3 separate regions of the Homo sapiens genome follow, and all the other regions are linked to region 2. Evidence: promoter capture Hi-C in 16 types of primary human blood cells and fetal thymus (Javierre and others, 2016). All regions are on one chromosome and are shown on one strand. Each heading gives the region's core, a stretch centred on a gene start or on the middle of the fragment in contact. The rest is flanking DNA. Distances are from core to core; before and after follow the strand shown.

Region 1 (3,105 bases), core at 385-2,884, 380 kb after region 2:
AATGAGAGAAGTCTATCAAACTTTCATATCTTTATACTTAAACACATATAAAGAGAATTTTCTAATCTCTTCCAGAAGCTTCTTTGAACCAAAATTCTAAAATATAAAAAAATCAATCATGTTGCTTTCAATAAAAATAACTTAATTTTAGTGAGAGAAAAATTATTTTTATTGTTATGAAGACTAAAGATTAGTTTTTTGAAATTGTGCTTTCGTATCTTGTCCATACATGTAAAATCTGAATGTAAAAAAAAAGTGTAGGGTTCTGAATCCGAACAAGTTGTTCCAGATAGCCTATCATTAATTCTTAAAATTTTATAAAAACTTTGTATAGGGCCGGGCGCGGTGGCTCACACCTGTAATCCCAGCACTTTGGGAGGCCTAGGTGGGTGGATCACGAGGTCAGGAGATCGAGACCATCCTGACTAACACGGTGAAACCCCATCTCTACTAAAAATACAAAAAATTAGCCGGGTGTGGTGGCAGGCGCCTCTAGTCCCAGCTACTCGGGAGGCTGAGGCAGGAGAATGGCATGAACCCAGGAGGCGGACCTTGCAGTGAGCTGAGATCGTGCCTCTGCACTCTAACCTGGGTGAGACTCCGTCTCAAAAGAAAAAAAAAAACTTTGTATACATGAGGTAGAATAATAATAAGGTGGCTTTACCAACAATTTCATGTGACACAGAAATCAAAGATGATGGTTTGAAAGATGGTGACAAATCAAAGATCTTTGACTGTAGCTGCAAAAAAGCTTTTTAAAAAGAAGGTGAAAGAATCACTTGGGAAAAGGCTGCTTTGGCTCTTGATTCAATAATTAATTTTTTACGAAGGCAGCTATGTTACATTGCCCTGGGGAGTACAGAATGACATCTTTTTTTTTTTAAGTCATATTTCTTAATGAGCAAAAAGCAAATGTTTAAAAAGCAAGTTTATATAAAAGCCTTCTCAAGAAAACAAGTACCCAGATTCTGCCACTATTTGGTCCCAGGTTCTACCACAAATTACAATGACAACAATAACAAAATGAGTGCCCATTATGTCAATTTTCATTACAAAATATTTAAATAACATTTAGTAATACTGACTAAGGCTGAGAAGGTGATTTTAATTCAAAATTTCTACAGGAAACAATTCAAATCCAATAATTAAAAGGATAAGCTTCATTTATCTGGAAATTAATTAGTATCCTCTATGATGTAGGATAACAGCATTATTGCATACGTTAATTATTCATTGAACTACTTATGTCTATGATGCTGACATACATCTAACACCACAACTAATGTAAATACTAAATTGGAATACATTTGATCCTATAAAGAATAATTCAGTATACTACATTAATAATTCACAAATATATTATTATTCTGGTAGTAATTAAGCCTGGGGACTTTCCCTACGAAATTCATGATTCCAAAGTTTACCTGCCATCATGTGCCCAAAAACTCCTTGAAAGCATTCTGATCATAGTCCTTGATATTTGAGTTGGATTCTGTAGAAACACTTAGGCTCCACAAACGGAAGTCACTGGAGAGCAGACAACAGATGAACTCCTTGGAATGTTAAGAAAAAAATCTGAAAACAGGTTTGTTTGTATGGGAAAATATCTGACCTAAAAAACAAATGTTTTCTCATTACAGAAGCAATACAGGTTCATTTTCCAGTAAATATTTTAAAGTATCTCCTTTTTTCATGCTACTGAGCCAGGGCTCATGGGACTTAATTGCAATTTTCTAAAAAAGAATCATTGATTTAGTAGCACTACACCCTCCTTTCCCTTTCTCCCCACTTTTTCCATGCTTTCCTAATTATAGTTTGCTTATGTCACTTTTCCCCACTCTGTACTCTTGTGGACACTAGTTCTGAAAGATGTTAACACATATTCTGGAGAAAAAAAGGTTCTCTTGTCAAATAAGTTTGGGAAATGCTTCTTCTCTCAAAGATTACAGTGCATATTTAGCAAACGTTCCCAGGAGATCCTTCAGTAAAGAAATCTGCATAAACCATAGCTTCCTGTCTTTACTTTGCCATAAATCCTTTTGTGGAAGAAAGTTTGGGGAAACATTAATGGGCTAATCTGTTAACATCAGTGTACATTCCCTAAGCTTATTAGCTAAAGATAAGGAGAGAGGTCTAGGAACCCATCACTGAAGGGGCTAATCTAGAGTGAAGAAAGCAGAAACTACGAGCTGGCAGTACCTGAACTTCTAAAAGCAGAAGGAAGATTAACAGAATTTAAGAAACAGAATATTTAAGATATAATACTGAACCATTTTATGGAATAAATTAGATTGAACAGATTTATTTTTTCTTCCAATCTGTAATTTGTTATGATAAAAACAATATATGCTCATTGTATAATACATGGACCATTCAGAAAAGTTTAAAAAGGAGGGGGAAAAAAGCTATAATTCCATTATTTAAAAGCAAGCAATTTTGACATTTTGGCTTATTTCCTTGAATTCTTTTTTCTTGTGAGACCAATTAAGCATAAAGAGAAAATTTTAAAGTTTTAAAGATCTGTAAAAAATTAACAACCTACACTGTTTTTCACTATACCATATTTGAAAATAAACATGGTGAAGATGAAATAGCATGAGCTGCTGAACTGTCAAATGTGGGCTACAATTCAGACTTTTCCACTCACTAGGTATGTTACCTGGTTTAAAAAAATCTAATTTAGCTTAAGTTCTCCCACTGTAAAATCTGGATAATGCCAGCTACCTCATGTTTTTACTGCCAGGAGTAAAAGGTATGAAAACAACATACACTGAACTTAATGAAAAGAAATATTAACTGCTTCCTAGTATTACTCAGAACTTTTCATGTTAGAAGAAGTACATTTCTAAAAATGAGAGGTGGGAACACTTTTTTTAAAGAACACTATTTTTTTAAGAAAAAGGGGAGGGGAAACAAAGGCTATATGTAAGGCTAGAAAATCTGCACAAAAACGTGCCTCAGAAATCTGAAGTCAAGGAGGCTCTTCCATTTCTGAAATATCACAAAGCACTTTATATTATTCCTGATGTTAAATATATTATTTTTAAAAAGTTTTAAATTCTTTAAAACAAAAAATTGTAGTTTTTTAGAAGCTTAGTAAATAGA
Region 2 (2,928 bases), core at 226-2,725:
GCCTTTTAAAATATTGAACAGTTGATCCTGATCATTAGGTATTAAGCACTGTGAAGGATCCTGTCTGAATACAAATGAAACATAAGCCCGAGACCTTAAAAAATAATCCTTTTGTTTGAAATGATCAGAGAGAAAGACTTCTCACTTAAAAATAAATCTTAAACTTTCAGGAACCATTCAAGTTTAGTGTAAACTGTATTCTGAATATAGAGAATTTTTGCTTTTGCTTGTTTTTGTAATCCTACGTGATTTGTATTTAAAAAGACTGGGTAAGATTAAGAAGACGGAGGAGCAAAGGGCTCAGATTCAAGACCTAATTAGCTTGTAGAATCACCAGTTTTCGATGGTGATGTGGAGATTAACAGGGAGGGACGGGCTAATATGAATCATGGCTCTTGGCTGTAAATCATCAGTGATTACGTCCTTTACCAAAGTAAGAAAACAGGTTTGTAGGGAGGCAGAAGTCAGTTTCCAACACTTTGAGTTTGTGGTGTCCTGGAATGTCACCTGATACCTAGTAAGTAGTTCTGGATCTTTGGGTATGGAACTTGAGAAAGGAATCCTGGCTAGAGAGAGAATTCAGGGCAGTTTATCAGTAGATAGCCTAGTAAAATCATCCTTGAGAATCACTGGTCTATTTAATCTCACCTATAAACTCACTTTTCTCTGTAGTTTAGAGGCATATTCAAACACTAATTACTCTGATATGATCCTCCCAACACATCACCTTATATATCCCCTATCCACCAAAAGAAACTTGAAGGGAAGTCCTAACCATCTACCTAGTTCAAATTCTCTTAGAGCATGGCCCAGGGTAGGGAAGGTACGTTAGCCACGTGATTAACTTTTCAGAAGGATACAATTCTGATTTTGCACGTTCACTTTGGTTGTTTTCACTATTGGTAAAGTATAATACTATTAACCATATTAATCCTCACGGCATTAGATGGGTACTATAATTCTATCCATTTAACACGAGAGAACAGGCGCAGAGAGATTAAGGAACTTGCCCCAAGTCACACAGCTATTAAGCAGGTGAGTGAGCCAAAATTCAACCTAGTTCCAAGACCCAGCCCCTTCACCCTACTTTGTTTGCTGTAGTTTAGCCAGATTTTAAAGCATCCACAGCAAGTTAAATTCCCTTATTCCGCTCCCATTCCGTTTTCCCAGAATCCTTAGGGTATGGTATTACAATTTTCTGCACAAGTTTGAGGCTTTAACTCGTAGTCTTGGCCTGAGCCAGCAGATGACATTTTGTTTGGCCGACTAGCCCCTCTAATATAACTCTCCCCCTGCTTCGGGACCTGTTGCCCCTCAGCAGACCGGAAAAACAACAGTGCCCGGGACAGGAACACGCGGCGGCGGAGGGGTCCGGGGGCTCGCCGGCATCCCAGCCCCCCTTCCCCAGGCCCCTCCTCCTGGCCCAGAATGCACCCGGTTGAAAACAAAATCCCACGTGACTGGCTCTCCTCTCAGGCCATCATGGCGTCTCCCAGTGGGAAGGGAGCCCGGGCGCTGGAGGCTCCTGGCTGCGGGCCCCGGCCGCTCGCCCGGGACCTGGTGGACTCCGTGGACGATGCGGAGGGGCTGTACGTGGCTGTGGAGCGCTGCCCGCTGTGCAACACTACCCGCCGGCGGCTGACCTGCGCCAAATGCGTTCAGAGCGGCGATTTCGTCTACTTCGACGGCCGCGACCGGGAGAGGTACGGCGGCCGCCACGGCCCTATTGTTTCTTCTGCTGTGTGTCCTCCAGCCAGGCAGCCGAAGGCTGGAACCTGGGGCTCCCCGTCCGGGCACCAGATACCAGCGAGAGGAGCGAGAGAGAGGGAGTGTAGCTAGCTGCTCTGCACCGGAGCTTTGCTACCAGAGGACAGCGTAGGGGCCAGATGAGGGAAGGTCGCCGTTTCCCCATCACCCACCCAAGAGGAGTTTGACCCCACGGTGCTCTTGGTCACTGGGGAAAAAAGGAATAAGTGGTGACTCTCTGGAGAAGTTTTCCCGTTGCTGCCATTAAGTTAGATTCCCAGCTCTTTGCTGTATGTACTCCCATTCAAAAGCTTGGCTTTCTATTTTCGAAAGCATATTTATACTCATTCTCTAGAGGAGAGAGTAGAAGAGAATCAAATAACTGCTTTAGAGGGATTTGGGCCTGGTAGTCTGTCACAGATGGACTTTGTTATCAGACATGCTTACTCTAATGTGTGAATTGAGGCTTGCTGTTAACGCCCCTTTCCCCTCCCTGCCTCTAAAGATTATTTTAGATTCTTAGGAATTTGGGAACGTGTTTTGGCCTTGTTTTAAAATTCAGATTGGGAGCTGCATGCTTTTAGTTAAGAGAATTGCCTTTAGGAAAATGTTTTGGTTTCATTTCGAAATCTAAACAGCTACAAGTTCTTGGTTAAGAAAATTGAAAAATTAGTGTGATTAGCTGCAGGATCTCCCACTCTCAACTTATGTTTCAACAATTTAGTGTCAATGATAGTCAATGATAGTAAGATAGCTAGCATTCTGAGCACAAAAATTCAGGTATTAATTCATTCGCAACAACCGAATGACTTATCCCCAACTTATTAGGAAGCTGCACAGTAAGTGCTTTGCCCCAGGTCACACAAATAGTTAAGTGTTGGTACAAGAATTAAAATTCAGACAGCTTGGACCTATGTACCCGCACTTAACCACTAGACTTTATATCCTCTATATTTGGGAATGTTTTGAGTTCTTAGTATTTCTGTGATCGTGGATGGAGTTCTTTCCTTTCTCTTTTGAGGAGGTTTGAATGACAAACTCTTTTTTAGTTTTGTTGCTGTGTCTTATTGGTGCTCTTGATGACTTTAGAAACTGCTTATGTAGTAAGTGATAGCTTTAAAAATTAAACCAGTTATAAGAATACGGGGTATGAGATGGAAATGTCTAACTGATGGAGTGAAT
Region 3 (2,993 bases), core at 264-2,763, 350 kb after region 2:
AGTAAATTTATTGCTTAATAAATCCAAACAGCAAGTCACATCATTTACTCTGGCATACACTTTGCAAAACAAATATTTTTAGATAATATATATAGCAAGAAAGAAATTACACTAATGCAAGGAGGAAGTTTTAGGGGTACTTTAAAGATTTCTTTTCCTTTATAGCTGGATTGGATGTTTGACTAATCTAATCAGAGATCTGGCTAGTTATTTTCGTACTAAGAGTTAACAGATTTTTTTTTTTTCCTGGCTGGGCATGGTGGCTCAGGCCTGTAATCCCAGCACTTTGGGAGGCTGAAGCAGGCGGATCACTTGAGGTCAGGAGTTCAAGACCAGCCTGGCCAACATGGTGAAACTCCATCTCTACTAAAAATACAAAAATGAGCCGGTGTGGTGGCACACGCCTGTAATCCCAGCTACTCAGGAGAATCGCTTGAACCTGAGAGGTAGAGATTGCAGCGAGCCGAGAGACTGCACTCTTGCCTGGGTGACAGAGCAAGACTGTCTCAAAAAAAAAAAAAAAAAAAAAAAAAAAAAAGAGTTAACAGATTTTTTTTCCTAAGGAAAATCTTTACTCTGCGTTTGGATACTCGTTTGGCTTACCTCACAGGGGAAGTGGGGTACTTTTCCATTTGGTTATATGACCAAGGCAGGCTCCTCAACTAAGATGTTAACCCCACACTGGGTTGTCTGACAGTAAAGCATAAAGCATTACATGTAACTGACAATAAAGAATAGGGGTGTAATCTTGAGCTCGAGAACTGCTTGAAAGATGAACATTACCTACTCATTGCCTTGGATTCTCTAAAAATCTACCTCTATCAAGCTAGACAGGTAGAGACTGCTTTTACTGAACTGTACTTTGGTGTGATGCTATAAAACAATACTGAGAAATAATAATAATAAAACAAAAAGCCCAATGAAATGAATCTCAGAGTTTACCTAAAGGATGCTATTGAGGACACTGCTTACTACATTACAAAGTCTTTGGGGATCTTTGGAAAATTCTTCTTTTTAGCACAAGGAATACTTAAAACAGTGCTTTCATCCTTTTAAATGCTTTACCTGAAGGTTTGAAATTTACTTATTTAATATACACACACCCTCTTTTAAAAACTTAAAAGCCTTCTTAATCTTCCATCCAAAACTGGGGAGAAACAATGTCAGTTGTGCTATGTACAATTAGTACACTTTAAATAACAAATTGAACACTCACATGGGGGCCACCAGGCATTGGTGGAGCACCAGAAGGTCCTGAAGGCACTTGGAAAGGATTACTGGGAGTAGGATAGAGTCCTGGTGTGGGATACGATCCTGTAGGGGCAGGATATGGTGCTGGTGGTCCCCAGGCTCCTGGTGGAACGGTGCCCCATGGAACAGGTGGTGCTGCCCCAGGGGCTTGGGGAGGAGGAGGAGCGGGATATGGGCCTGGAGATGGATATGGCATATTAGGGGTAGGATACTGCCCTCCCATTCCTGGCGCCCAAGGTCCAGAAGACATGGATCCCCATGGACCTAAAGGACCAGCTGCAGCTGGATCTGTGGGTGCACCATATGGTCTGGGTAGCTCTGGAAAGGGCATATTTGGTGTAGGATATGGCCCTGTGGGGCCAGGGCCCGGCACAGTTGGGGCTGGATAAGGACCACCAGGTGGGGGACATGATGGTCCGGAAGGAGGAAAGGGTGCTGGGGGTCCTGGAGGTGGTCCGGTGGGAGGCACGGAGGGATACATTCCTGTTGGTGCTGGTCCAAAAGGCACAGTGGAGGGTGTTGCACTTGGTGGGAGTCCAGATGGCACTGAAGATGGAGCACTCGGATTATTCCAAGGGTTGGAGCCTGGCCAGCCTTGAGGAGGTTGGCCAGGTTTTGTATTGCTCACAGCAGAGGTTTTGGCAGGGGAGTGTTCAGGTAGTGCATCTGCCAACTGGAACACAAAACAGATACGTCTTTCCTATCTAGGGAAAAGTTACATCGAACACCATTATAAACCCACAGAGAATAGTAACCTATAGGGGCAGGGATTATAAACCTCAAGAATATCTTCAAAAGCTAAGCTAGTCATTTAAAAAATACTCTATTTAACATAAACCTTGAGATGCTACTTTGCGTATCAACTTTACAGTGCAAATTCTTCAGAGAAACTCGTTTTCTAAATACAACTAATCATATTGTGCTTCATTTCTCTGCTGTATTAATACAACAAAATACAGTAATTAAGAAGATAGAACTAACAGTCAAGATATGGATTTGAATCCTGGCTTAACCTCAAAGGAGCTACATACTCTGAGATAGAGCCTCTTCAGTTTCAAAACTGTTTTAGGGTTAACTTGAGGCTTAAATATGATATTTCATGTAGTACACTTTCACAGAGTGCCTGGTATATAATAATTTCTAATAAATGTTGGCTATTAATACTATCAGGGTAAAAGAGAACAACAGAAGTAACATCTTAAATTTTCATTTAAAGAAATACATATTTTCATAAATACAGGAAACATTTCCAAACATGCTATTATCTCAGTAAACTAAGGCAAATCACCTATCAAAATCTCTTTACTACCCCCAAAGCCAAGAATCACAAAAAGCATCTCTTTTATTTATTTATAGACAGAGTCTCACTCTGTCACCCAGGCAGGAGTGCAATGGCACAATCATGGCTCACTGCAGCCTGAAACTCTTGGGGTCAAGGGATCCTCCCAAGTAGCTAGGACTACAGGTGCACACCACCATGCCTGGTTAAAGCATCTCTTTTAAGTGAAAAGATTTACGTAGCCCAGTTAGGACCATGTTGTTTTTCTTAAGAGATGAAAAACTTATCACAGATAAACTGATCAACTTACCGAAAATTCATCAGACATTTTCCTAAAAAAAGAAAAGAAATGAAGGAAGAAAGAAAAATTTCAAAATCAGTGTTCACCATTTCTTAAATATTCCTTAAGGAACTTTCTATGCATACATTATTATTACTTAAGCGGAATCTTATTTATGTAATG

Evidence for each region. Contacts are between HindIII fragments. The CHiCAGO score rates a contact against its expected background, and 5 or more counts as called.
Region 1: a fragment that was not itself captured here is called in contact with the fragment with the promoter of ATG14 in region 2 in 1 of 17 cell types (erythroblasts); the score reaches 5.3 in erythroblasts.
Region 3: a contact is called between a fragment that was not itself captured here and the fragment with the promoter of ATG14 in region 2, in 1 of 17 cell types (naive CD8 T cells). The highest score is 5.0, in naive CD8 T cells.

Annotation. Positions count from the first base shown.
Region 1 is chr14:55,030,311-55,033,415 of GRCh38, reverse strand. It overlaps SOCS4 (suppressor of cytokine signaling 4), which reads right to left. Exons shown (of 3, transcript NM_199421.2): 2 at 1,425-1,553. Among named protein-coding and RNA genes, the nearest start is that of SOCS4, 4.6 kb to the right of the region's middle. The HindIII fragment of the contact is 947 bases long and covers 1,161-2,107 here.
Region 2 is chr14:55,410,377-55,413,304 of GRCh38, reverse strand. ATG14 (autophagy related 14) reads left to right here and starts at 1,475. Exons shown (of 10, transcript NM_014924.5): 1 at 1,475-1,703. The coding sequence starts at 1,483. It also overlaps a transcript of FBXO34 not described here. RefSeq lists a silencer at 1,186-1,485. The HindIII fragment of the contact is 5,042 bases long and covers 1-2,059 here.
Region 3 is chr14:55,061,549-55,064,541 of GRCh38, reverse strand. It overlaps MAPK1IP1L (mitogen-activated protein kinase 1 interacting protein 1 like), which reads right to left. Exons shown (of 4, transcript NM_144578.4): 2 at 2,841-2,862; 3 at 1,217-1,924. The coding sequence starts at 2,858. Among named protein-coding and RNA genes, the nearest start is that of MAPK1IP1L, 11 kb to the right of the region's middle. The HindIII fragment of the contact is 6,604 bases long and covers 1-2,993 here.